Regions from separate parts of the Homo sapiens genome. Here all the other regions are linked to region 1. The links are contacts of gene promoters, found by promoter capture Hi-C in blood cells and fetal thymus (Javierre and others, 2016). All regions are on one chromosome and are shown on one strand. Each heading gives the region's core, a stretch centred on a gene start or on the middle of the fragment in contact. The rest is flanking DNA. Distances are from core to core; before and after follow the strand shown.

What was found. The method cuts DNA at HindIII sites, captures the fragments that hold promoters and counts their contacts. A CHiCAGO score of 5 or more calls a contact.
Region 2: a contact is called between a fragment that was not itself captured here and the fragment with the promoter of MCU in region 1, in 2 of 17 cell types (M1 macrophages and megakaryocytes). The highest score is 6.0, in M1 macrophages.
Region 3: a contact is called between a fragment that was not itself captured here and the fragment with the promoter of MCU in region 1, in 2 of 17 cell types (M0 macrophages and monocytes). The highest score is 5.4, in M0 macrophages.
Region 4: a fragment that was not itself captured here is called in contact with the fragment with the promoter of MCU in region 1 in 3 of 17 cell types (M2 macrophages, M1 macrophages and megakaryocytes); the score reaches 7.0 in M2 macrophages.
Region 5: a fragment that was not itself captured here is called in contact with the fragment with the promoter of MCU in region 1 in 1 of 17 cell types (megakaryocytes); the score reaches 8.6 in megakaryocytes.

Annotation. Positions count from the first base shown.
Region 1 is chr10:72,689,292-72,695,146 of GRCh38, reverse strand. MCU (mitochondrial calcium uniporter) reads right to left here and starts at 3,004. Exons shown (of 8, transcript NM_138357.3): 1 at 2,846-3,004. The coding sequence starts at 2,995. RefSeq lists enhancers at 1,567-1,656, 3,327-3,386 and silencers at 2,417-2,506, 2,527-2,576, 2,667-3,126. The HindIII fragment of the contact is 1,146 bases long and covers 2,204-3,349 here.
Region 2 is chr10:72,445,464-72,451,318 of GRCh38, reverse strand. All of the region lies in intron 8 of MICU1 (mitochondrial calcium uptake 1), which reads left to right. Among named protein-coding and RNA genes, the nearest start is that of DNAJB12, 93 kb to the right of the region's middle. The HindIII fragment of the contact is 265 bases long and covers 2,399-2,663 here.
Region 3 is chr10:72,476,684-72,482,538 of GRCh38, reverse strand. It overlaps MICU1 (mitochondrial calcium uptake 1), which reads left to right. Exons shown (of 12, transcript NM_001195518.2): 7 at 5,283-5,365. Among named protein-coding and RNA genes, the nearest start is that of DNAJB12, 120 kb to the right of the region's middle. The HindIII fragment of the contact is 2,903 bases long and covers 1,335-4,237 here.
Region 4 is chr10:72,850,038-72,855,892 of GRCh38, reverse strand. The region is part of intron 2 of MCU (mitochondrial calcium uniporter); the gene reads right to left. Among named protein-coding and RNA genes, the nearest start is that of OIT3, 41 kb to the left of the region's middle. The HindIII fragment of the contact is 4,677 bases long and covers 51-4,727 here.
Region 5 is chr10:72,830,984-72,836,838 of GRCh38, reverse strand. It overlaps MCU (mitochondrial calcium uniporter), which reads right to left. Exons shown (of 8, transcript NM_138357.3): 2 at 2,411-2,480. Among named protein-coding and RNA genes, the nearest start is that of OIT3, 60 kb to the left of the region's middle. The HindIII fragment of the contact is 7,528 bases long and covers 1-5,855 here.

The DNA.
Region 1 (5,855 bases), core at 1,755-4,254:
CAATGGAATTACACAGCTCACAATGAAAGGCAGTTCCTCTTCGAAGAATCATACTTAAAAATAGCAGCCACCTTCACTAACCATACAGAAAAGCAGGCAACAAACATTTTACATCAGTTTTGGTTACAGTCACAAGCCGGAGAGAAGGAAAAAAATTACACTAGATGGTGCTAAAAATATTGAATAAGCCCCTGTACCTTTACTCTTATTTACTCAGTTGAATGACATACTAATGGAGAAGGGGGAAGAGACAAACTAAGTTTATAACTTCATAATTGCACTTACCAACTAGCTGAGCTACTGTATTGCTTTGGACTCATTCTCGAAACTTGGAAAAGATGAATTTCTCACTTAAAAAATTAGGCAGTGCTGTAACTGGTTATGCCCCCCTGGTTGTAATTTACCATACCATACAGCGGAACAAAAGTGGCACAAACTGGACTTGTGATCCATTCCAATGCAGACTGCCATCTGCTGCACATACACAGGATGTCTCCCAAGCAAGATTCAACCTTAGTGTCTCTCAGGGACCTTTACCAGAACATCTATTCTTTCTGGTAAGTTGTTTGCTCCCATATTCACCTAATATATGTACTCAAATCAACACCTACTTACAGGAGAATTCCCATTCATGGGGTTTTGAAATAGCAATACTTTCATAATGGACAATAGTAAATTTTATAAGGGAGGAGAGAGATGTAAAGGAGCATTTGCACTTTACAATGAAAAGAACACAATAAGAGGTGAGAATATCTCAGATGAGTGGGAGTCCTAAAACTTACGTATTAGCTAACGTAACCTTGGCCAAGTCTCTCTCTTTTTAGGGCCTCAATATCTTTTAAATGGAATTTCTTGTAAAGAATCACAGACTATCCTATGGAAACAGCTGTATACATGATGGCTTCAGAAGAATTGTAGAAAAATAAAATGTTTATACACTTTAAATAATCAGGTTCAATTTTTTTCAAAATCTTACAATTCTAAATTCATGTACAAGTCACCATTCCCATAACATTCCTGCCCTTTAGAAATAACACTTCGTTTTAATTGTGCTTTCAGTTACAAATTCAGCACTTCATTTTTACCCACCCTAGAATAGCACAGAGAACACCTTCGTGAAGTATCCCCACAAGGGAGACACTCACAGCCTGACAAATTTGCATAGTGGAAAATATACAAGGCACAAATTTTTTAAAATGCTAAATGAATATCACACCCAAACAGTCTTAAAAACTGTGCAAAGTCAGAAGATGTCTTATCAAAATATGGACTTAAGGACAACTTGGGAAGCCTTTAAGTAGTTCGACGGAAAGGGGAATGCAATCAAAATTTGGGGTGGCCTTATGTTTTTAAGAGAACAAAACACATAACTAGAGGCTATGAAACATGCAAATTAAATTGAACTGTGGAAAAGCTCTTGGCTGTCACCCAAAAGCTTCAGCAAAGCAATATGCCAGTATGCCAAATAAAAAGAGGTACAATCTTCTCACAAGAATGAGGATAGGGTCCATACCTATGACTAATAATAACAATACAACCTTGCTTTTGCAGAGCATTAGGTCTTTTCATAGATCTTTCAGGCACTCGATTTTGATGCTGTCATTGGCCTTAGGAGTATCCTCTCCGAAGAGCTCCAGTTCAGTTTCCTCTTAAGAGTTATGATCAGAACAAGGCAGGCGATGTGTTTATTGAGGGTTGAAGGTACTATTGTAGTTTCTCCTATCAAGCTGTTTGCAGTGATCCTCCAATAATCACACTATACAACTCAGCCCCAGCAAATAAAACCTACATTCTTTCCCTCAGAGCTGGCCAGAGACCAACACATATAGGTCTAGAAAGTCCAAGGGAAGGAAACCTCCTGACTTGTTAGGTTAAGAACTCCATGCCAAATTCATCTCTTGCAATTGAAAAAAGAAATCTCTCTCACACTCTGTCTCTCTCTCTCTCACACACACACACACACACACACACACTCACCCAAGAGTGTTCAAACAGAAATCCTCTTTTTCTGCCAGCCAATGAAACCCAGCAACAACTGGTTAATACAACCACCAAATCTCTGCCTCTGTCAACAACTTACCATATTCGCTTCTCCTGTGCCTGCTGACCACCCTTCCCGCTTCAGGCACGCGTGAACACGCTTATACAGTAGCCCTCGAAAGGACCCCCAAAAGCACCTTTAAGGACCCAAGAGGATGAAGCTTGCCTCCTGAAGCAATGCAGCATCCATCTCGAGGGAGCCGGTTCCCCATGCACACACACAGAGGAAGTCACAGAGGGGAATAAAGTTTGATTTTCCTTCCTGCCCGACCCCTCGGGGACGAGAGAGGACGAGGGGCGGCCCCGCCGGGGTCCTGGGCTGCTCTCCGGGGCAGCTCCCAGCAGCATGGCACTGCCACTCTCCTGGCACACACAAGGCGGCCGCGGCAACTCAGAACTCCCCAACCCGCCCGGAGGAGGAGGGAAAGGGGACAACTTCCATCTGGCTCCGTTCAGGGAGCCTTGGGGCAGGGCTGTTAAGAACGAAGAAGGGAGGGAACGCGATTGGGGGCGAGTCGGGGAGAGGTTCAAGTCCCGTGCCTTCCCCGCCCTGGTGTCCCCAGTCCTGCGGGAACATCCCCGCCGTCGCCCCTCCTCCTCCTCTCGGCTTCCTCCCGCCCGCCCTCCCTTCCTGGTCGCCGCCGCAGGCGCCTGAAGGGCACGGCGGCTCCTCGGTGCCCGGCAACCTCCGGAGCGGCCGGGAGTTGAGGTAACTCGCCTGCTGCCCCGGCGGCCTGCCCGCCGGCGGCTCCCACACGCCAGCGCCGCCCCGCCCTCCCCGGAGCCTCCGGGCGCGCTCGCTCACCGTCCGGTGGTGCTGCTGCTGCCGGTGGCGGCTGACGCCCAGCCCAGGGAAGCAGCCGGCAGTCAGCGCCCCGCAGCCGCCGGCGCCCCCGCCGCCGCCGCCCCGAGAGGAGAGGAGCAGCAGGAGCGATCTACCTGCGGCGGCCGCCATCTCTCAACTGGAAACGGCGCCGACCCAGGCAGCGCAGCGGACGGCCAGGGCGGAGCTAAGACCCGCCACTCACCGACGCCGGGCCAACTAAAGCCCTTGACTGAGTTGATGAGGCGGGGCTTCCTGCAAGGTCCAATCGACAGGCGGGAGAACCACACTGGAAGCTGCCAGTCCCTTCCAGAGTTACCTATAGTGGGACATAGTCAATTACGGGCAAATTCTAGGGAACCCATAATTGACACCCAAACCCGTGAAAATAACAGCAATAGAGATGGCATGTTCAGTTCGGCTAATCTTCACCAACAATAGAGCTATGATAAGAGTAACGGGGGATATAGATATTTGTGAAAAGCTTTGTTCGAAGTTGAGTTCTAAGTGAGTGTTCTAAGTTGGCAAAATAGGCACCAAATTAATAACCATTAACGGTGTATGCTGTAACTCTCAACTACACGCCTAGAATTATCATTCATAACTGATAATATTTAGATATGCTGAAATTAACTCTACATCACGGAGTGATCTAATGACTGTGATGCGTAGCATAATATAGGAGAGGTAGAACGATTACAATATCAAAGTCCCAGAATGAGTACATGCCTTCAGAGTGAATTAACTGACGTGTATACATCTCAAATACCCAATTCATTTTTACAGCACCTTTATACGGATATTCTCACACTCTCCAGAAACAGCACTATTTTATCATATTTGACTTTGTGTGCATTTACAGAAACAGAACACATTAATAACGTAATAAAAAATCATGTAAGGCCGGGCGCGGTGGCTCACGCCTGTAATCCCAGCACTTTGGGAGGCAGAGGCGGGCGGATCACGAGGTCAGGAGATCGAGACCATCCTGGCTAACACGGTGAAACCCCATCTGTACTAAAAATACAAAAAATTAGCCAGGCGTGGTGGCGGGCGCTTATAGTCCCAGCTATTCCGGAGGCTGAGGCAGGAGAATGGTGTGAACCCGGGAGACGGAGCTTGCAGTGAACCGAGATCGGGCCATTGCACTCCAGCCTGGGCGACACAGCAAGACTCCATCTCAAAAAAAAAAAAAAAAATTCATGTAAAAGGCTATTTTAATGATGCTTCATAATTTTGCCGAAATAGTTATCAGAATACGCTTTGGAATAACAAACACTTTCTCTTGAAAAACACTTCTTTCCACTTAAACTCACAATGAGGGCTCCTTGAATACTGCCTAAGAAAGATTTTGGGTCCTGAATTTCCTTAGAAGAGTATTTCCTTGCTAGCTGTTTATTATTATGAGCTGATTAAATTCTCACACCTCTTTTTAAAATCTGGAGCAGGAAAATAGTTTGGGAAGCAAATACAAGCATTATTTTAAATTTTGGAAAACATCTTTGTAGTGTAGCCTTAGATGATAAATTTAAAACAAAAACAAAACACACACATAAATACGAAGAAAATGTTATCACTTATTCTAAGAATATTCTTTAAAGTTTGACTGAAATGGTACCTTCTTGGCCAAGAATAGCTAAAAAATGACGTGGAAGTTTTTTGTTTGTTTAATCCTTATGCCCCACCTACACCAAAACAGTGAGATGATTGGCTTCTCCGGGGTAGATATCATGTCACTCACTCAAAAGGCTTTATTGCCCAACAGGTGGAACTTGAGACCTCAAGAATGAGCCCCCATTCAACAGCTGCACACAGTAATCCCCCTAGTTGGAAATCCATGACATTCCTGGAACAATTTCCCTTACAATTATTTTCCACCCATCTATATTTATCCCAACTGCATTTGATGTATTTACCCATGCTGTGCCATTTTCTCTCTCACCCCTTCATGCCTTCTTACAGAGATCACCATGGATTTTAGTTTTGTTTTTATTTTCTGTGCTGTCACCAGATCTAGCTATGAATCAGGATTGCTCCATTTCCACTTTCCACTTTAAGAAATTTTACTAGAATTGCCTTTACTCTATTTTTCCAAGCATGAAAATTAGATGTGCATCCTGCAGTGAGATTTACTCATATGCATTAGCAAAAGAACTAAGTAAATAATACTTTTAAGTGCACAAACATGAAATGGGCAGTATTAGCAAAAGTTTTCATCCTACCTATTTACCAAAATGTGTCATCTTTTATCTACTAAGATGAAACCACTGATGCACCAGAGAGAGATAGGCTGTATAAATCTGAGGATTCACTGACTATACTCAGTTCTGGGTGTTGATAATCCAAGGCCGGCAATTAATTTAAACAAATATCAATTATCTCCTCACAGAGAAAAACTTCTTCATAGCTGCAAAGGACATATCTCATATGAGCTGGTTGGCCAAGCCTGATAAGGAGAAAGTGTAGATAGCTCAACAGAAAGTTCTTCTCAAACCTAAAAAAAAGTATGTGTGTGTGTGCCTGTATATACACACACATTATATAGAGAGAGAAGGAAAGGGAATTAACATACCTGCTATGTGCCAGAGATTGTGCTGATCACTCCAGAGATACTACATTTAAAAAGGAGGGCAAGACAACCACAGAAAACTTTTAAAAATTGTAACTTTCATGAGAAAGAAGTTGAAGAAAACCTCAATGTCTTCCAATAGGGAAATGGTTAAATACATTAGACACTAACTTTGTAACAGAAAATTATTCAACCATTAAAAAATTGAGGGCCAAGCACAGTGGCTCATATCTGTAATCCCAGCTCTTTGAGAGACTGAGGCAGGAGGATCATTTGAGACCACATATTTGAGACTTGCCTGGGCAACACAGCGAGACCCTATCTCTAAAAATATATATTTTTTAATTAGTTGGGTGTGGTGGTGCACGCCTGTAGTCCCAGCTACTCAGGAGGCTGAGGCAGGAGGCTTGCTTGGGCCCAGGA
Region 2 (5,855 bases), core at 1,282-3,781, 240 kb after region 1:
AGGCATGGTGGCTCACACCTGTAATCCCAGCACTTTGGGAGGCTGAGGCAGGCAGATCACAAGGTCAGGAGATCGAGACCATCCTGGCCAACATGGTGAAACCCCATTTCTACTAAAAATACAAAAATTAGCTGGGCATGGTGGCACATGCCCATAATCCCAGCTACTTGGGAGGCTGAGGCAGGAGAATCACTTGAACCAGAAAGGCGGAGGTTGCAGTGAGCTGAGATCATGACACTGTATTCCAGTCTGGCAACAGAGCAAGACTCTGTCTCAAAAAAAAAAAAAAAAAAAGATTTAAGGGACTGGGCGCAGTAGCTCACGCCTGTAATCCCAGCACTTTGGGAGGCCAAGGCAGGCAGATCACCTGAGGTCAGGAGTTCAAGACCAGCCTGGCCAACATGGTGAAATCCCATCTCTACAAAAATTAGCCAGATGTGGTGGTGCACAGCTGTAATCCCAGCTACTTGGGAGGCTGAAGCGGGAGAATCGCTTGAACCCGAGTGGTGGCGGTTGCAGTGAGCTGAGATTGCACCATTGCACTCCAGCCTGGATGAGAGAGTGAGATCCCATCTCAAAAAAAAAAAAAAAAGAATTAAAAAAATAAAGATTTAAGGAAGTATAATTTCAAACATGAGAATATTCTGCTAGCACCAGCAAGAGAAAGACCTGCAAGGCAGAAACAAAGCATGATCTGACTTTGTTTTAGTAAAGATTTAAGATTAGCAGTGAGAAAGCCATGCAACCACAGGCTTTGCAAGTTGTTAGAGTTAGTTCCCCGGAATGTGTATGAAGCAGAAAAGAACCTGTTTGGCACTGATACCTTCAGTCACCTCCATTCGCACAATCACTGTCAGAAACATCATCTCATCTGACCACCTGTCTCTGTCTCCACCACCATTCTTGTCTTTTGCTTGGGCTACTTCAGTTGCCGCCTAACTACGTGATTCATCTCATCAATCACTCTTAACTAAGAGCCTTTGCACCACTATTGATTTCCCTGGAGCTCTCTTCCTTCTCCTTCACCTAGTTACCTTGTTTTTATCGCTCAGAGCTCACTTAAACCTCACTCATATCTTTTCCTGCTTCACCACCTCTCCACCCCAAATTAGATCACATTTTTGTTACACATTTCCAAAGGACTCTGTACTTTTTTTTCAAATCACTTAATTACATAGTCATTTCATTGTTTGTTAAATACCTGTCTCTCTGCAAACACTCCCTGAGAACTTTCACGAGAGTGTTGGGCCCGCCATTATTTCCTTAGTGCTTCCCAGAGACAGAACACAAACCAGATTTTCAGGAAATAGTGTTGAATTAGTAAATATCAGATGTGGACGAAAGCCTGGCAAAGTACACATACATGTTGATGCCCACTCCCTCTCCAGCTCTCTGTGGCATCTATGGTCTAGTATATTAGGCACATTCTGGGGTATCAGCCCCGCTTTCAACAATTCTGTCTTCTCCAGGATTTTGCCCACTCCACTTCCCAAACATATGTGGGAACTCCTAAAAGCCATGTTTGTAAATGTGAAGTTCGATCTAGAGATAGACCAATATACTTAAGCATGAAACATTCCTCATTAGCTATTTTAAAAATGAAAAAGTACCACAAAATTGAGAAGTATCGTTTATGTTTCTTAAGTTGCTTTTAAAAAAAAACTAAAGAAAACCTTAATTAACTTGATGACCAGAAAGAAAAAAATAAAAAAACGCTTTACTGCTGCAGGATTTAAAACATAACCTGACTTAATGGTCTGTCTGTGGTACTCTAAGAAACTTACCAGGTGCAGTGGCTCATGCCTTTAATCCCAACACTTTGGGAGGCCAAGGTGGGAGGATTGCTTCAGCCTAGGAGGTCAAGACCAGCCTGGGCAACATAGTGAGACCCTGTCTTTACCAAAAAAAAATTTTTTTTTTTGAGACAGAGTCTTGCTCTGTCACCCAGGCCGGAGTGCAGTGGTGCAATCTAAGCTCAGTGCAGCCTCTGCCTCCTGGGTTCAAGCAATTATTGTACCTCAGCCTCCTGAGTGGCTGGGATTACAGGCACCTGCCACCATGCCTTGCTAATTTTTGTATTTTTGGTAGAGACAGGGTTTCACCATGTTGGCCACACTGGTCTCAAACTCCTGACCTCATGTGATCTGCCCGCCTCAGCCTCCCAAAGTGCTGGGATTTCAGGTATGAGTCACCATGCCCAGATTAAAAAATTTTTTAAATTAGCTGGTCATGGTGGCAAATGCCTGTAGTCCCAGCTCCCTGGAGGCTGAGGCAGGAAGATCGCTTGAGCCCAGGAGGTCGAGGCTACGTGAGCCATGATAACACCACTGCACTCCAGCCTGGGTGACGGAGTGAGACCCTATCTAAAACAACCAAAACAAAACGAACAAACAAAGCTTAATTGTCTAGCAAGGGACAGCTAAACTTATAATTAACCAATAGGTTACAGCACTGTAAAAGAAATCTTGCAAATTTTCTCCCTGGCTGTTTTTTACAATTGTTATCATTAAAGGACTTCATGGTTTTCCTGTTCTTAAGGGGGAAAATATTTTCTTTTTTTTTCCTTTATGAAAGGAGAATGACAGTGATACAGTGTGGCCCATTAGATCCTTTGCCATTCACCTGCCTGTGTTTGGACTGTTCTCACTTTGTGTATTAAAGCTTCCTTAAGCTACATGTTTCTGAGCCTCAGTCTCCCAATCTTTATTGCATTTTTCCTAATGCTTGTCAGTCAACTTAATCTGAATTCTAATTTCTATATATTGTGTTCCAATCTCTAGCTCTCCTTTTCTAAAAAATGGGCACTTTCCAATGTAATGTTTAGTGTATTAAAAAATATTAACTTGGCCAGGTGCGGTGGCTCACACCTGTAATTGCAGCACTTTGGGAGGCCAAGGTGGGCGGATGACTTGAGGTCAGGAGTTCCAGAACAGCCTGGCCAACATGGTGAAACCCTGTCTCTACTAAAAATACAGAAATTAGCTGGGCATGGTGGTGGGCACCTGTAATCCCAGCTACTCAGGAGGCTGAGTCAGGAGAATCACTTGAACCAGGAGGCGGAGGTTGCAGTGAGCCTCGGCAAGAGAGCAAGACTTTGTCTCAAAAAAAAAAAAAAAAAAAAAAAATATATATATATATATATATACACACACATATACACACACACAGACACACACACACACACACACACACACACATATATATAAACTTTTTCCATGGTGCCCAATGTGAATGAGCTCATCACCTATGCAATGGCTTTCTGAATGGTGAGAATTAAAATGGATGATAAGATTAAGCCAATCAAAGAAGGGGTGGGTCATCAGAAAAAGTGAGATCAACTGGGATTTGAGCTCTGGAGACTGAAGAATAATGTGTTACTAATTTTACAGATGGTGTCCTCAAAATGTAGGTTTTTAGTGTAGGCAGAAATTTGAGAATATGCAACTTCATAATTTAGCTCAGTTCATCCAGGTAAAAGCAGATATAACCTTAACTGTTTTATCGTTCTAATATAATAGACCTCTGTTCCTCTCAGTTAAACTCTCCAGCTTTTGTGGAGCATAGCAAGACTTTTCATGATAGATTCATTGAACATGGCCATTTTCCTAACTGAGGCACAATTGATTTTTTCATATCTTTTTTTTTAACTTCTGCCTGTACACCAATGATTTTTTCGTATATTGCATCTGTGAAATTGTTCCTATAGAAAACTTCAAGTAGTAACTATTTTTAACAGCATTGCCTCCTGGTTATAAACTAGCAGTTTAACATATAATTGCTTACCTAGGTTTTCTTTTTCTTCTTTTTATTAGGAATATATATGTATACTTACAGTCAGTCTGTAATTATGGGCTTGTTAAGTCATTCATAGAAACAGTAATATACAATTTTGTCATGACTATAATCATGCCAATAATATATATCTGTATAGAGTAATTTTAAAACCCTCTAGCCTATATTATGATCTTGGTGTTGTCCTATTATCTCTTCAAATCCCAGGTCCCTCTAGGCAGTAGCTATTATGCCTACTTCAAAGGTTATTATGAGACTCAAATGAGAGAGTGAATCGGAAGCATTTTGTACATTATTATCCCTCAACCTATTTGTGCCCCATACATAGTAACTTCAGGCCTTATAGTTTGTCCCTACTGCTCCTGTTTCCGTAAACCTTTGCAGAAATCTGGTTTTTACGGGCAAAAAGAGGTTATAATTCAACTTTCCATGCTCTAAGCATAGTTCCAGTCTTGCCCATCTCTTTTATTTCTCTTCTTATAAACATGCAAAATGTTCATGTGAAGAGTAGAAAGGAGAGGATTAAGAGAATTACTTACTTACAGTTTTTCTTTCCTTTCTCAATCTTATTTTTTGTTGTCTTTGTAGAAGACAGAAAGTTTATTTCTCTTTAAATAGAGCTAAAGTTAACAGAAGCAAGTGTGACCACAAACTTATTACTTGCAGCTTTTGTTCATTGTTCTTACTATCATTATTAATAGCAGCCAACATTTACTGAGCTCTTAGTATGTGCCAGGCATCCTACTGCCATATTTCATTGAATCTAAAAGAAACATTGGTTTGAGACACTATTATTTTATTAATCACTAAGAAAGAAAAAAATGCTGTTGTGCAAACCATGACAAAAATGCTCTACACTAAAAATATTTAGTTAATATCTATTAAAATACTCCATTAGGGCTGGGCCTGGTGGTTCACATCTGTAATCTCACCACTTTGGGAGGCTGAGGCGGGTGGATCACTTGAGGTCAGGAGTTCGAGAGCAGCCTAGCCCAAAAGGTGAAACCCTGTCTCTACTAAAAACAAAAATTAGCCAGGCATGGTAGCGGACACCTGTAATCCCAGCTACTAAGGAGGCTGAGGCAGGAAAATCACTGGAACCCGAGAGGTGGAGGTTGGAGTGAGCCGAGATCACACCACTGTGCTCCAGCCTGCTGGGCGACAGAGTGAGTGACACTCCATCTCAAAAAAACGAAACAAAAATACTCCATTAGGCTTAGATTTTTATTTTATGACATTCTTGTACATACATATAAAGAAAATAAATAAATTGGTCTAAAATTTCTTCATACTCAGGATCCAACTCTTCTGAATTTTTTTTGACTCTGAATCATGGAAGTCTATGTTTTTCCATACAATATTGTCCTCCGAGCCATCAAGAGCATCGGTGGTGCAGCGTTTCTGAAAAGAATAATCCATTTTTAGCTGAGATTTTCTTCCAAGCTACTGACACTCATTCTGCAAGCTCTGACATACTTGTACAGTCAGTGAAAACAGTGCCAACTGCTCCTTAGCCAATAGCAATTTTAAGAAGCATACAGATTTCAGAGATACTAAAATGTGAAGAAAAAAAAAAAGTAAATGCATCTTAGGAAAGATGAATTAGGACAACAGTTAGTCCTTAGTTCTTATCTCCTAAAACTGGGGCTTTTATATGGTTTCACATCTATTATCTAACTTTACCCTCACAGTAATCCCAAGAGGGAGGTACTGCTTTTATACTGATTTTATAGATGAGGGAACTGAGGCTTAGAAAGGTTAAAAATTGCCCAGAAGTACACAGTTGATACATAACCAAGGAAAAAACCAAACCCAAGTCTGCCTAACTGCAAATCTTGTATTTTTGCCACTGTACTAGCTTCATTTATATTCCCCAGATAATGAACAGCCTTGATATGGATGCAAGAAGAATCCCCCAATCTTTCCAGAGAGCCAAAACAGGGAATATGTCGTGCTGCAAAAAGTATTTCCCAGAAGCTACCAAGCTAGAATTTTAGTGAGTGAAGACTAAATGAAAGGATTCCTACAAATAATCAGCTGAGTATGGATCCTTCAATTCAGAT
Region 3 (5,855 bases), core at 1,537-4,036, 210 kb after region 1:
CTCCCTCAGAAATAATCAGAGGCTGTGTGATCATCCTTACAAATTCAGTGGAAAGCTCATCATTGAATAGAGGAACATTCTGGAAGTTTTTTTCAAAACTCAGACTTCTCTGACATTGCATATCAATTACCTCATTTATCCTCTAGCATTCTAAAACAGGAATGGGACAGGTAAGAATTCTTTGATAGGAGAATCAAACCAATAGAAAATAAGAAACTTGTTTAGAATCTAACCTATTCATTTTTTCATCATTCCATCAGTGCTACCAAAAAATAATGTAAGGCAGCAAATGACTCATTAGGTTATTGGAAAAGCCAGAATTAGAACTTTAGTTCAACCATTCCTACCCGTACCATTCCTTATGCATTTTCTATTAAAGAACAGTGAGAGAAATAGCCATGAAATCAACCAGTGAAAGTCTCAGGACAGCTAGTGTTTATCTGATTATGTGACTCAATACACATAGAAAAAGATGGTTTTTTCTCTTTACTAAAACAAAACAGAAAAAATGTGCTTCAGGAAACAGTGTAGAGTTGTCATTATTATTATCATGATTGTCAATGGTGGAATGATATTATAGAAACAGACTTGTAACCAGAACAGACCTAATGTAGCTCTGTATCCTAGTAGCAAAGATTATTAAGGAAATCTAAGTGAAAGGTGTATAGTAACAAACTTTGTGTAGGGTCTTATTGTTCTAATCAGTTTCAACACTTGCTGAGACCATTTTGGAAATCGTGTAGAAAGTAAATTATGCTGTTTTAGCAGGGGGGAAAGCCTCACTCTTCACTCTAAGTAGCCTAGCATTCAAAAGAATTCCTTTTTCAGGGTGGGCGCTGTGGCTCACGCCTGTAATCCCGACACTTTGGGAGGCCAAGGCGGGTGCATCACTTGAGGCCAGGAGTTCTAGAACAGCCTGGCCAATATGGTGAAACCCCGTCTCTACTAAAAATACAAAAATTAGCCGGGGGTGGTGGTGTGCTCCTGTAATCCCAGCTACTTGGGAGACTGAGGCACGAGAATCACTTAAACCTGGGAGGCAAAGGCTGCAGTGAGCCAAGATCATGCCACTGCACTCCAGCCTGGGCAATAGAGCAAGATTCAGTCTCAAAAAAACAAAAAACAAAAAACAAAACAAAAACCAAAATTCCTCTTTCAGAACCTTTCTATGGAAACAGATTATGAGTTAGAATAAACACAGGATGCCATAAGCTTTCCAAAACAACTAGATTTAAAAATTGCCCTGAAGGCTACATTTGAGAGGAGACAAATAAGTTTACAAGAGAATCGCTTGACATCATATACTGTGTAGCATGTTTCACTTAAAGCAAGCTTGTTTTTGGCTTGTTTGTCCCATATGCTTTGACATGATCAGCCAATGAAATTGAATAGGCTGAGAGCTCTTTCTAGAAAGACTGGCCCTGAGAGGCTGGTGAGGCCCAAGTGAGCATGTCCAAGGCTGCAGCCCAGCTTGCCTCAGCAGTGGCCCAAGCACAGGTTCATGGCCTCTGTGGTGTCAGCGCATGTACTTTAACAAGCACTCTCAGTTGCTCCACATAAAGCCAGTACTTTGAAAGGAACTATACCAGGATAAAAAGACAGAGAAACCTCAAGCATTACAGGGTATACTTTGTTTGGTAAAGTGTATTTAACCTTAGTTGTAGGAGGTGATATTAACCATAATATGCTAGAATAACTCATTCAGTCATTTAAATGATCTGGGCACATGCCTTCATGGAACTCACAAGACAGTAAGACTACAAGATCCTGATAAAGCTGAAGTTGTAAGCAGTCTGTGTCACCTCTGTAATTGTGGAGAGAGGGAATGGGGATACTGCTTTAATTCATGTATGGGAGCATATTGACTTCGCTCTTATCAAATGTTTTCCTATTTCTATTAATTTGGGCTGTATTCCTCTGGATATTGTGATGCCGCTTCCTCTGTCACTGCCTCCTTTCCTTTTCGTTGCACTTTAAACATTGGCTTCCACCTGCAATCTACCCTTTTCTTGACCTTCTCCTCACTCCTCAGTTTTGCATGGGCAACTTCCTTTCAGGTTCTTTGCAGCTAGCCACTTGTATGCCCATAAATCCCAGCTTAAACCTCTCTCACTGAGCTTTAGACCCATATTTCCAACTGTCTCCTGAACATCTTCATCTGCATAAGCTGAGACCCCTTAAATTTAGCAGATCCCGTCTGAAATCATTTTATTTCTCAAACATTTTACATCTATTTGCTCTCTTTCTTCATGCCATGCAAGCTACACAGTAGTCTAAGCCAGTCATGCTGTCATTCCTTTTCACTCTCAACTCATCACAGCTAACTAATCATTAAGTTCTATAATTTCTGCCTTCTTTGGGTATCTCAAATGTGTCCCTCCTCTCCATTACCACTGCCATCACTGCAGTTTGCATTTTCAACATTTAAAAGAGCTTCTGATCTTCTTTAAAGCTGGCCTTTCTTTTCCAACTCATTCTTCACACAGTAGCTGGAGAAGTCCTTTATAATTGCTTGATTGTGTCACTCTCCTACTTAAAACCTTCAGTGGCTTCATATTTTCTGCCATTGTTACATTCTCAAGTATCTACAGGAATTAGGCAAATAACATATAGGAGTGAAGTGGGCCAAGTGTGACAAAATAAGGAAGAATAAGAGAGAACATTTCCACCTGAAGAGATTTATAATCAGAAGTTTAAAAAACATGACAAACCAGCCGGGTGCTGTGGCTCACACCTATAATCCTAGCACCTTGGGGAGCTGAGGCAGGAGGATCATTTGAGGCCAGGAGGTTTAAGACCAGCCTGGGCAATGTAGTGAGACCACATCTCCACAAAACATAGAAAAATTATCCAGGCTTGGTGGCACGCACCTGTAGTCCTAGCTACTCCAGAGGCTGAGGCAGGATTGCTTGAGCCCAGAAGTCTGAGGTTGCATTGAGCTATGACTGTGCCACTGCATTCTAGCCTAGATGACAGAACAAGACCCTGTCCCAAAAAACAAAAACACATGACAAACCTATCTGAGAGTTTAATGTTGCCTGTGGATCTTCCATTTACTACGGTCAAGCCTAAACTCCTGAGCATAACACAGGCAGTGTTTCTGTGATATTGGTTATCTCCTTGAGATGATCAACTTGGAATGTTCAGCTTTTGCAGAGACTGACATAACCACTGTGTCATGTTTTGTTGCTTAGTTTTTAGGTCAAATCGTGTCAGCATGAAGAGTGTGTGTTTATCATTTTAAGTACCTCTATGTTCACATTAGAGGCCTTGGAACATAAGGAAAGTTTGTAGGCTTTGGAGTCAGTGTTGACTTAAGTTCAATTCCCACTTCTGCCAAAAAGGAGCTGTGTGATTTTTGAGCTAGCCATTTAACTGCTTTGAGCCCCAATATCCTCCTCTGTTTAAACAATAAAGAAATGAAAGTTTTCAAGATTGAGAGTATGAAGTCAAATAATAAACACCTCCAATTATCTAGCTCAATGCCTGCCACATAGTAACTCCTCAGTAAAATGTAACATTCAGACAGGTAGCAAAAATTTGAGAAGTGACAACAAATATACAAAACTAATTCCCCCAGCTGCATCCTTCCCAGCAATTGAAGGCTGGGTCATGGTGGCTCACACCTGTAATCCCAGGACTTTGAGAGGCCAAGGTGGGAGGATCACTTGAGGTCAGGAGTTCAAGACCAGCCTAGCTGACATGTTGAAACCCTGTCTCTGGCCTAAAGGAAAGCAAACCTATTGGAAGTCAATATCAAGTGAAGCAGACAATTGGAAGCTGACACACACATGATTCACCCAGGCAACTAAAAACCAGGAGTTTCCAGCCTAGCTGCCTAACTACCTGAAAATGGAATTTGAGCCCAGAAAGTGTTTCTGTTGACAAATTCATGAGCAGGATGGGAATATGGCCTCTCTAACAATTATACATAATATACAAAGTTCATTTTACTTTTTTCTCTGCATAAAATCTTAACTTTTTTCATGTAAATGATGTTAACTGAAATTTTAATTCACTAGTATAAGGACACATAGAATATTTATTTTGGTTTATTCTCTAGAGCTGTATAAATTTGAAGCACCAAAGGAAGGAAGTAAACAACTTAGTTTTCTTTACCAGAACATTTAGTATGGGAAGGGAGGAGGGCTGTTGAGTTTATATTTTATTCCAATGCACAGAGTATATTAATGATATTATGACTGATCTAGGAACACTAAAGAAGCCTTGAAAAGCTTTCATCATTAAGGGAAAGTTTTGTCAAGCTTTGCATTTTTTCATTTTGTTATTTAAACTTCAGCTTAATTTTACCATTTAAGTATATTTAGTAATTTGTGTATGCAGCTGACATGATCGAAATAGGGGGCTGAGGCCAGACGCCGTGGCTCACACCTGTAATCCCAGCACTTTGGGAGGCCAAGGCGAGTGGATCACTTGAGGTCAGGAGTTCAAGACCAGCCTGGTCAACATGGTGAAACCCCGTCTCTGCTAAAAATACAAAAATTAGCCAGGCATGGTTGTACATGCCTGTAATCCCAATTACTCGGGTGGCTGAGGCATGAGCATCACTTCAACCCTGGAGGCGGAGGTTGCAGTGAGCCAAGATGGCACTACTGCACTCCAGCTTGGGCAACAGAGTGAAACTGTCTCAAAAAAAAAAAGAAAAAAAAATAGGGGGCTGAGTACCTTACAGTGTACTTTTCTGCCTTACCATAGAGCTGTAGTGATAATGAATAAACTAATAAAAGAAACCAACTTGAAATTATCCATGTTGGCAGGGTGACATGCCCAGAACTCCTGACTGCACTTACAACAAAGAGACTAGAAAGAACAAAGTAGAAAGCTGGCTTGTTGTGAGGGTAAGACTAAGATGTAGTGTTTCAACTTCTTACTTTGCAGCAATATGTCTCACCCTAGACATACTTTCTTGCCCAGATAAGTAATACCATATTGAAGCAACAGAACGTTAATATTACTAAGCTAAGAAGATGGTGTCTCTGAAAGCAAAGCTAAATCATTTAAGGCAAAGCATGTTGAAACAAAAAGGTAGACAAGTGCTGTCTTTACTGGCCGTAGTACTACTCTTTTTTGGTTTCAAGGAGTATTCCTAAAAGGGTGATCTCAATAAATGCAGTTTCATTTTCCATTTATTGAGACTTTGACTCAGTCACTTTTATGGTGACTTTGATATTACATTTTAGTGTTTAGCCTTTTGTTTTTCTTTAAAAAGGGATTTATTTTTGGTCAATGCCTTCTAAATATTTTTTTTCTCTCCTCTGCAGCTCCTCAGAGAAATTTTGAAATTGCCTTCAAGATGTTTGATTTGAATGGAGATGGAGAAGTAGATATGGAAGAATTTGAACAGGCAAGTTGTCCTGGAGAGTTCCTCTAAATACATTAATATTTAAAATACATTTTCATGTGCCTTGGAGTTACCTTAGCCTTGGTCAGTATACTCAGAGGCTATTCCAATTTTTGAAGTACCTAAAATGTCATTTCTCAAAATTATTCTTTGAACAGGTGGGTTGGTTTTATTTGTTTGTTTTCACTCTAAATGTAATGAATTATTTGAACATACCGTTAAGGTCACGGTTGCTCCGATTCTCCAACATAAATTGGGTTATAATGCCTCTAGCTGGGAAGCTAAATTATGGCAATTCAACATTTACCAAAAAGCTGCTATGTGCTAGGCAGTTCCAGAATACAAGGACTACATATTTTCTTAAAGGATTTCTATAAGAGAAGGAAAAATGGTGCCATACCATTTTTGACTATAGTAGGTGACAATTTCAAAATCCTAGGAATAGGTTACATTTCCATAGAACTACTGCCATTGGAGAACCATGGTGCTTCTC
Region 4 (5,855 bases), core at 1,140-3,639, 160 kb before region 1:
CCTTTTACCTTATCCATGTTTTATTTAAAGTGAGTTTCCTGTAGAAAGCTTATAGTTGGGTCTTGCTATTTTATCCAATCTAACAATCTCTGCCTTTTAATTAAAGTATGTATATTATTTGCATTTAATGTAATTTAAGTATGGCTGAATATAAGTCTTACCATCTTACTACTTATTTTCTTTTTGACCCTACTGTTCTTTCTTCTACTTTTCCTCTATTCTTGCCATTTTTAGATTTACTATCTTTTAATCTCTTTAAAAAGGATTTTTTCATTTAATCACTATTTATTATAATTTAATCTCTTTTTTTAGAGACAGGGTCCTAATCTGTCTCCCAGCCTGGAGTACAGTGGTGTGATCACAGCTCACTGCAGCCTTGATCTCCTGGGCTCAAGTGATCCTCCTACCTCAGCTTCCTGAGTGGCTAGGACTATAGGCATATGTAACTGTGCCTGGATAATTTTTTTTTTTGGTGGGGGTAGAGACAGGGTCTCACTATGTTGCCCAGGCTGACCTTGAACTCCTGGACTCAAGCTATTCTCACACCTCAGCATCCCAAAGTGCTGGAATTACAGTATTGAGCCACAATGCTCAGGCTAATCTCTGCTATTGACTTATTAAATATACCTTATTTTATTTATTTTTATTTTTTTTGAGATAGGGTCTTGCTCTGTTGCCCAGGCTGGAGTGCAATAGTGGGATCTTGGCTCACTGCAACCTCCACCTCCTGAGTTCAAGCCATTCTCCTGCCTCTACCTCCTGGGTAGCTGAGACTACAGGTACCCATCACCACAACCATACTAATTTTTCTTTAGTAGAGACAGGGTTTCACTATGTTGGCCAGGATGGTCTCAAACTCCTGACCTCAAATGATCCGCCCGCCTTGGCCTCCCAAAGTGCTGGGATTACAGGCGTAAGCCACCACACCTGGCCCTTATTTTATTTTTTTAAGCATTACTCTAGAGCAAGTATTGCTAAACTTTTTTCTGTAAAGGCTGAGGTATTAAATATTTTAGACTCTGTGGGTCATAAGATCTCTGTTACAACTACAAACTCTGTTACTGTGGTGCAAAAGCAGCCACAGGCAATATGTAAACAAATAGGCATGGCTGTGTTCCAACAAACTTTATTTATAATAAGCAATAGGCTGGCTTTGGCCTGTAGGTTAGGGGGTCGCCAACCCCCAGGCCACAGACTGGTACCATCGAAAAAGTGTCTTACACAAAACTGGTCCCTGGTGCCAAAAAGGTTGAGGAGCACTGCTGAAGGTCATAGTTTGCTGAATTCTGCTCTATGTTATACATCTTTACCATATCACAGTCAGTCTTCAAATAATATAATATCACTTTAGGTATAGTTTAGAGGACCTTACAACAAATACTTCCATTCCCCCTGCTTGCATTCTTCGTGGTATTGTTCTCACACGTTTTTCTACATATATTATAAACTGCACATTATTTTTGTGTGGTTTACCTTTTGATTATCTTTTAAAGAAATTTTGTTTTGCATAGTATATGATATGAGTTTGTGTATATTCTTATCTTTGTTCCTCTATGTCTTTTTTCCTCTGTCTGCCTTTTTAAAACTTTTACTTTTTAATAAAGACAGGGTCTCATTCCGTTGCCCAGGCTGGAGTTCAGTGGCACCATCATGGGTTACTCAGTCTCAAACTACTGGGCTCACTGGATACTCCCGCCTCAGCCTCCAAAGTAGCTGGGACTACAGGCATGTGCCACCATGCCCAGCTAATTTATTTTATTTTTGAGACAGAGTCTTGCTCTGTCACCCAGGCTGGAGTGCAGTGGTGTGATCTTGGCTCACTGTAGCCTTCACCACCTTCAAGCGATTCTCCTGCCTCAGCCTCCCCAATAGCTGGGATTACAGGTACACACCACCACACTTAGCAAATTTTTGTATTTTTAGTAGAGATAGGGTTTCACCACGTTGGCCAGGCTGTTCTCGAACTCCTGACCTCAGGGGATCCACCTGCCTCAGCCTCCCAAAGTGCTGGGCCAGCTAATTTTTTTAATTTTAATTTTTAATTTTTATTTTTGTAGAGACAGGGTCTCACTATGTTGCCCAGGCTGGTCTCAAGCAATCCTCCTGCCTCGGCTTCCCAAAATGCTGGGCTCACAGGTGTAAGCCACCATGCCCAGCCCTCTGCCTGCTTTTCAACATTTTCCTTTTATCACTGGTTTTCAACAATTTGACTGTGATGTGCTTTGCTTTTCTTTATGAATGGTTGGGAGTTGTTAGATTTTTTAGATCTGGCTTTCCTCAAATTTGGAAAACTTTTGACCTTTATTCAACTATTATTTTTTTCTGTCTGCTACCCTTCTGGGATTCCAATTACACTTATGTTAGGCCATTGTGATATTGTCCCACAGGTCACTGAGGCTTTCTTCATACATTTCAGGGGCTTTTTTCCCCCTCTCAGTTTCATTTTGGATAGTTTTAATTGCAATATACTTCAACATCATGGATTTTTTTCTTCTGCAGTGTCTAATTTCCTGGTAATTCCATCTATATGGTGTTTTCATTTCAGACATATTTTTCACCTCTAGAAGTTGCATTTCTTTTTATATCTTCCATTTCTTTTCACATTATACTTATATTTTTCCTTTTCTCTATGAGCATAAGGATCATATTTATAATAGCTATTTTAACATTCTTGGCTGTTTATTCCATTATCTCTGACATTTCTAGGTCTGTTCATTGACTGAATTTTTGGAAGGCTTATTTTTTGCTTCTTCATATGCCTAGTAATTTTTGATTGGTGGTTAGAAATTTTTAATTTTACATTGTTGAGTGCTGGATCTTGTATAGTTAAATTAGTTGCATGTTAGTTTGGCCCTTTCAAGACTTCAAAAAATTATTTTAGGACAGATCTAGAGAATCCTTTATTCTAGGACCAATTTGTCCCTACTTCTAAGATATGGTTCTTCTGAGAATGTCTACCAAATGTTCATGTGTCCAAGGCTATCTCTCTACTGTGGCTAGAGGGAAGCAAAATTATTCATTTTATATTACTGGCAATAGTTATGTTCTAGGAAGTTGTTCTAGCCTGGTCTTGTGGTTTAGAATTCAGCCAAAGCCTCACAGGATGCCTATGCAGATTTCCGAGACTCCTCTTTCTCTTCATAGCTCCTTCCTCTGTAAACCTCTGTCTCATAAATTCTAGCTGCCTTGGGATTTACAAACTCTGATCTCTGTTTCTTCATCTTAACTAGATGGCCAAGCTCTGTTTCCCCTCTCTGTGATGCAATTTAGAGGCCGCCTCAGGCTGTAAACTCAACCAATGCAGGGTTCAACTCATTTGTTCCTCTTATCTCAGGCATCACAGTCCTGTGTGCCTATTGTCCAGTGTCTGAAAACAGTTGTTTCAGATATTTTGTCTGGTGTTCTAGTTGTTTATAGCAGGATAGTAATTCCCATAGCAGCTAATACTTCATGGATGTACGATTTGAATTTTTACATAAAAACTAAAAGGCAAAATCAGAAATCCTTATTGCCTTTTTCCTTCCAAAGGAATAGTCTGTTTCCTAAGGAAGAAGAGGTCAAAATAGTAATTTGAATTGAATATATAGCATGTACTATCTAAAGTCTGCAATACCTAAAGATATTTTTAAAATTTGTTATATTCCTTCTTGTTCTAAAAGAATCCTTAACAATTAATCTACTGTTTCCTGAAGTCAGAACCACTAACATGAGAATATTTCTATCTTTTCTATAGGCAGTAATGATGACGAAGTCATTAAGATTAGTGATTAAATTATCCAATTATCCCCTTTCTGTATGTGAAAAAGAGTAACCACAGATCAAGAAGTAGAGAGAGTTGAATTGAAATACGAGATAGAATCTGTGAGTCTGAAATATATTTGGAGGATCTTGAAGCTGTCTTTGCAAAAATTATAAAAGTGAGAAAATTATGACAGTGAAAGACACCTAATCTAACCAACCCCATATTTCCTTTAACCTCCAAACTGCCCTTGGTCATTCCTGGGCTTGGGCCTAGCTAGCTTTGGGAGAAATTTAGTTTTTAGTTTAAATAATATGCCTTCCCCCAAAATAAACTGCCTTCACAAAAACTAACGAAAGAGCAACAGGTTAGGAAGATGGGAGGAGGCTGAATTCTGCTAAGATGTAAGTGGAAGGGATTACACCAAGCCATTATTCCAGAGGTCACAAGATTTGCAACTTCCCCACACCCACTCATGCAGATAACATCACTGTTGTAGAACCTAAGATTGGCCTTTTGAGATGTCCTTTCAGGCTCCTGTGGCCCCCACCCAGAAGAGGACTCAGCACATGAGGACCATTTTCCACACCCCTATGACTGCATCCACAACCAATCAGCAGCACTCATTCCCTTAGCCCCCTGCCCACCAAACTATCCTTGAAGAATCCTGGTCTCCAATTTGGGGAGACTAATTTGAGTAATAAAACTCCAGTCTCCTGTTCAGCCAGCTCTGTGTGAATTAAACTCTTTCTCTATTGCAGTTCTCCTCTCTTGACAAATTGGTTCTATCTAGGCAGTGGGCACAGAGAAGCTGTTGGGCAGTTACAAATGCACTAAAACATCAGTTTCACAGGTAAATGCTTAGGGGTTACTGTTTTAAAATAACTGAGACAAAGTCAACAGAGAATATGAAGGTCTTTCATACCCAATTTAACTTCTTCCTTTAAAGAGCATGATGCTTTTTTCAAGGGAATGAAATAAGAAAGCTTTTGAGAAACTCTACAAGGAATAATGCAATTCAGAGCTGACAAGCCTTTATTATACTGCTTTTGAAATCCCAATGCCTACTTCTTTCCTACACAGTAGACTGTAATGTCAACGTTAGATTTCTTAGTTTGCAACTCAGGAATAACTATTGCCAAGGTTCCTCAAGTTTCACAATATAAACAATAAACAGCTGGCTGTAGCGAAGTCACAATGGGTATTCATAAGCTAATGACAGTTGTCAGCTACTATTACCTAGATAAAAAATATTCTTTTAAAGTATAAATTGCATCAAGTGGCTGTTTGGTTGAATTTTTTAATCTTTTGCTTTGATTTCCATGTGAATAAAGTAAGAAATAATATAAGTATGTTCCAGAGCAGTGTGCTTCAAAAAAAGCCTAGAAATTATGGAGCATTCAACATGAATACTTAGAGCTAGAACATGATAACAGATTTAGGCATAAAAACCAAAAGATGCGGAATTGTGCAGACTAAGAAGAGTAGTGCAGGAACTACAAACAATTGCATTTGAAGAAGGAATACATATTTTAAAAATGCCTTTGAGGCATCAGGAGTTGAAAAAAACAGTCATAAAATACAAATGCTTGTTATTTTGTAAAATATTTTTTAAATGCTTGTAAAAATATATAGTATGAAGTTTGGCTGGTGTTCAAAACAATGAGTAAAATCTCCACTAAAATATATCACCTGTATATATCTTGAGGGCTTATTATGAAAGGGACTTGGTACACAAGGAAGCACATGTTGGGGTTTTTCCGCAAAGCTACTTGGAGTAGAACTATATATGATGGATGATTTCAGGGGCTTATGATCTTAACATTGTCGATTTCCTCCCCATTTTCTGTAATATTCTGCATCATAAGTGTGAGATATAATCATAGAATTTCAGTGTTGGAAGGCCAGACAGATCATACAAACTAACATCCTTCTTTTGCAGCTAAGAATAACAGAGTCTAGTAACGTTAGATAATATTCCTGGGCCAGGCGCGGTGGCTCACCTGAGGTCAGGAGTTCGAGACCAGTCTGGCCAACATGGTGAAACTCCATCTCTACTAAAAATACAAAAAATTAGCTGGGTGTGGTGGCAGACACCTGTAATCCTAGCTATTCA
Region 5 (5,855 bases), core at 1,946-4,445, 140 kb before region 1:
ACCTAAGGTGAAATTAACTTAGAAGTACAAAATTAGAAAGATATATAATAAGGACATCAAGCTACATTAAATCAAATAATTTTGTGCTTTTATTTCTTGATAACTAATATGAATTAGTTTTCTTAAGAAGGATAGTGTTGGTAGGAATTTGGGGAGACACTCTTTTTTTTCTTAAGTTGGTATCTTTTTAGCTTTTGTAAAAATAATATTGCCTTCAAACCCTCATAATGGCAACCTATCAGCATTTATGTCCTCTGATAACATCTGGCCTAACTGTACCATTGTTAAATTACTGAAATATCTCCATATGGATAGAATATAGGTATACATAACTGTACCATTGTTAAATTACTGAAATATCTCCATATGGATAGAATATAGGTATACATAACACAGCCTATATATAGATATATATAACAGGATAATAGTAACGGTAATAAGTAGCAAAATTAGTATCAATTCCAATATGAATTCATTAGTTCAAGTTAATTGCCACTAAATATCATAACCACCAATGGGACTTGACCTTCCAGCTGTAGTATAACATGTGACTTGGTTGATATTCTTTATGAATATATATTGATATATGTGGATATTGAATATATGACAATTTCAAACACTATCATAAATACTAGAAATTTTTGAATGAAATAGTTCAGCAAAACTGAGTGGATTCAGCAATGTAAACTTTTTTTTTTTTAACAGTGAAATTCTTTTTATTCAAACTATCTAATGATGGCACCCTGCAGTGGTAATGGAGTAAGTCAGAACCTGGGAGTGGTGCTGGCACAGATGTGGACAGTCACCATTTGGCTATTTAATGGACCAAGCAGTGTCAAGAGGAAGAGAGATACCCACCCACTGCATTGAAGGAGCTTAAGGAGGGAAAGGAATATGTAGCATAGCCAGGTGGCATTATGGTCCTCTGGCTCTTGGCCACGTAGAAAGTACTGTTATCTGGGTACATACTGACTCTTGACTGGGGGCAACACAGCTACCTTTCTGGCCACAACACAGTGCTAAGTGCTGCTTTTTAACTTATACATTAATTGGTACTAATTTTTAGTTTTTTGTCTTTAAGAGACTGGAAACAGAGAGCCAGCTAATATTTTCCTTATTTTGATTTTGGTCTATTTTCCCCTTTTTAACCTTTCCATATTACAAATGAGTAATCACAATGGATTTTTCTTCCAAATTTAGAAGATTTGGCAAATATGAGCACACTGTCTATAAATTCACGTAACAGCTTTGGGAGGTGATTCTGATAACACTGCAAATATTATACTGACTAAATGTTGGGGATTCTAGTGTTCTCATGATTCATTTTCTGGGCTTCTTTAGTTTTAGGCACCCTTGTAAATTTGCAGGATGCTCTTTCAGTGGTTGTTATGCTTACGAATTAATGTTTCTAAGGTTGAAATCAGAGCTCTATCAAACTAAACTTTATACAGAGGAAACATATCTAACAGTCAACCCCTAAACTAAGCAACCTAAACTGTAAATGCACAATACCGGGTAAGAGAAATGACAATAAGAGTTGTAAACACATCTCCCTCCACTACCATAAAAACAACAAAGGTTTGGATCCTGTCGCCAGTTTATAGCATCATAGACATTTACGAAGGATTGCATTGGTCTCCAAGCATCTGTTTATCCCTTCCCACATCAAAGAAGAGTATTGCAGTCCTATGCCTAAGTAGGGAAAAAGATAAGCAAGAGCAGGAGGTCTCAGACTTTGAGTTCCTTCTGTCTAGGCTCTGATACAACAAGAGGCTGGAGTGTTTGATCATTATCCATAATGTGAAGACCCAATGGTTAGAAAACACCAAAGATGGTGCTTCTGTGATCTTCACATTAACTATGTCCCTAGTTTTAACAGATAAATGAGGCTGGGCACAGTGGCTCATGCCTATAATCCCAGCACTTTGGGAGGCCGAGGTGGGCGGATCACGTGGGTTCGAGACTAGTCTGGCCAACATGGTGAAACCCTGTCTCTACAAAAAATACAAAAATTAGTTGGGCATGGTGGTGCTCGCCTGGTCCCAGCTGCTTGGGAGGCTGAGGCAGGAGAATTGCTTGAATCCAGGAGGCAGAGGCTGCACTAAGCTGAGATCGCGCCACTGCACTCCACCTGGGCGACAGACCAAGGCTCCATCTCAAAAATAAAAGATAAATGATCATTTAACCTATAAAGTCTTAATGGAACTTAGTGTTTCTTCTTGGTTTCTTCTCTAAACTCACTAGATTCTCATCCAAATTTTATTTTCCTTCTCCTCCTTTCTCTCTCTGACCCCTAAGCCCACCTTAACTGAAAGAGTATGGTTTATAAATTTTTGTGTCAGAGAATAGGAAACACTGAGCTAAGAAGGAAATAATATTAGACATAAAAGGTGGATTTGCTGAAACTCACCATCAGAGGGCACAACAGTGCTGCAATAAACAGCTCCCAAATTCTGCCAGGAAGCGATCCTCTGGTGTACCTAGAAAACACAAAAGATACATCTACTGTCAGAATGGAACAACAAACATATACTTATGTGTGTGTATATAATAAATATATACATATGATTACTTAAGTAATATGCATGCTTTGTAGAAAACTTTAAAAATACAGATAAAAGAAAATAAAAGTCTTTCAAACTCCTATCATCCTGAAATAATAGTGGTGAACATTTTGGTATGTTTTCAAGATTTATGCAAACACATTTACATATACAAACACAAGTATACATGTTACATTAAACAAAATTAGAATTATACAAATCATGTTTTATGTACTTTTAAAAACATTTAATATTGATTCTAGGTGCTACCAGGCCTCAAGTAAACTTTCTGGCTTTTTCTTCCTCCGGTTACCTTTCAGATCTGCGTCTCCTTCCTATCTCTTACCAGGTATGAGAGTTATTAAGTAGCTGTATCAAGAATTTACTATTATTGAGTAGGCATCTGGTCTTTATGTTCACTCTCCTTTTTAAAAAACCTGGAGAGGCAACCTCACTAGTTGAGTCCTTAATCACGACCGCTTCAGAGTGTTAGAAAAAATCACTCACACTCACATCCACCTCTACTACTTCCTCGAAGAGCAATCACTGTGGATGTGGATCTGGGACTCAGGTTCTCATAACTAAACCATGTTTCAGAATGAATACTGAATACATTTCTCACTTGCCAAATGCTTAATTTATTCCTTTGTATCTTTTACTTTCCCAACCCCAAAAAGTATCAAAGGAAGAGGAAGGGCAGGCATTAACTGAACAAAATCCAATATACCAGCTTCAGGCCTGACATATTCCATTCCATCAGCACAAAGAAAAATCATTTAGTATCTACTAAGCTGTATTAAGGTGTGCATTGTCACAGAGTCCTAAATGATTTTTCTTTGTGCTGATGGACTTTGTATGACTATCATTAATTTCCATCTCGTTTCAACTTAAAAGAGCATGCAGAAATGTAAGACTGACATTTATAAACAATTTAAATAAATAATTTAAAAATTACTTGAGACTTGGCTCACAGCTAGTTTCGTTTTAAATCTTTGATTCATTAGGAATTACTTCTAGTCAAAGTTACTAAGTAGAAATCTAACTAATTTCCCTCTAATGACAACATAGCTGTCCCATACAGTGAATAATACATCTTTTCCTTTCTTATTTGAAATGCTATCTTTATAATTTTCCAAATAATTACATGAATTTGGATCTACTTCTGAAATTCTATTCTGTTCATGCTCTAGTAGCCACATTGTTTTAACTAACATTCTAGTCTTATTTCAGTATCTGGTAGGGCTAGTTTTCCCTTATTACTTTTCTTTAAGACAACTCCCAGCTATTCTTGTTTATTTGTTTCTCCACATGAACTTCAGAGTCAGTTTATCTAGACACACACACACACACACACACACACATAGCTATTGGTTTCAAAAAACAGTATCATGTAGTGGTTAAAAGCACAGAATCTGAAATAATCTTGCCTGAGTTCATTTTGTGGTTCAGTAACTTTAACTGCAACTCTTGGGCAAGTTATTACCTTCTTTGTGCCTTGGTTTCTTCACTGAAAAATGGGCAAAAAGTGGTACTAACATCACCCATATAAAGTAGTTGTGAGGACTAAATGAGTAATACATGTAAAGTCCTTAGAACATGCCTGGCATAGAGTAAATTCTCAATAAATATTAGCTATGTTTTGTTTTGAGGTATTAACTTCATGGGTTAAAAAAGGATTTTGATTTTTTCCAAAGAATCTTGTTAAGTCTTTCCATTTAAGTCTCTGTTTGTATTTCTGAGAAGCACTTTGAAGTTGTTTTCATGCAGATCCTGTAGGCTCTTTTTTCCTCATGTAATGGTTTTTGGACTAAGTCTTGTCCAATATTAGGAACACAATCCCTGCACGTTTGAGTTTGCATATGCCTGTTACATCTTTGTGTGTTCTTTAATTTTGTTATCCTTTCTGAGTTTCTTTGCTTTCATTTTCTTAGTAATCTGATCTGGGAATGTTTTAATAGGAGAATTAGCCTACATACTTTAATTAATATAACATACATACGTAATCTCTTATCAGTTATGAAATTTTATGCTATGCTTTCTAAAGTAAAAATACTTTACTAGTGACTAGGCATGGTAGTTCACGCCGGTAATCACAGCACTTTGGGAGGCTGAGTGAGAGGACTGCTTGAGCCCAGGAGTTAGAAGAGGCTGCAGTGATCTATGATCGTGCCGTTGCACTCCAGCCTGGGCAACAGAGTGAGACCTCATCTCTTAAAAAACATTAAAATAAAATTACTCAAAGATTTGTGCTTGCTTTGTTTTAGTTATATATATATTCCTTAAGAAAGGCTTACTTTTTTGTTCTAGTAGTTACTTCAGAGTAAAAGTCAAAGTTCTTTTAACGGCCTTTGAAAGTCTAATATTCTCTGATATCCCATTATCTCTGACTTCATCGCTTACCACTCTCCCTCCTACATTACTGTGCTTTACCCCTTTAGACTCTTCCCTGTTTCTTGAACTCAGCTACATTTTTGCTTCAGGGCCTTTGCAATAGCGATTACCTTTGCTTAGAATACTGTTTCTCTAGATAACTACATGGCTCCCTCAGTTCCTTCAAATATTTGCTCTACTCATCCACTTCAAAAAAAGCAATCTCATCAATGGGTACTCCGAATCCTTTTATGCTGTATTTTCCCCCCATACATTTAACACCTCTTAACAAATTATTTACTTATTTTTGTCTCCTCCAACCCACGAAGCAAAAATTTTCATCTGTTTTGGTCACTGACAGTGCTTGACAAATAACAAGTCCTCATCAAATACATGTTAGGCAAAAAACAAAACAAAACAAAACAAAAACCAACCCTATATTTTATAGTTTATGTTATAACTATAATTTTATATAAAATATACTGTAACATATAAAAATCCTATCTCTATCGTCAGCAATGATTAATACAGCTATGTTTCTTTTTTCTTTCCCTCTACCATTCGGTTTCGTTTATTAGATTATTTCTCTTAGCATTTACCTTTCGCTCTAACCTACGTATCTATGTATCAACTACAGACTCCCCTCCACCCCAATCTTAAGATTTTACTAGATTTACTGATTTCAAATGACATCTTTTGACAGGTTGTTATAAAACATGACAACATCATTTATTTCCTCATCTTTCCGACTTTCATTACTGCACTGTCAAGGTTTTAACGATTCATATTCTTCTCTGTAAATCTAATTTCCACATTTGTTTTAGTCTTAATGCTATAGATCAATGGACTCTATGTTCACTGCCAATACTTTAGCTGTAGTTTCTCCTTTCATTTCTTGGTTGGCTGCACATCTTCCTGTAGAAGTAGGACTCATGAGAGCTA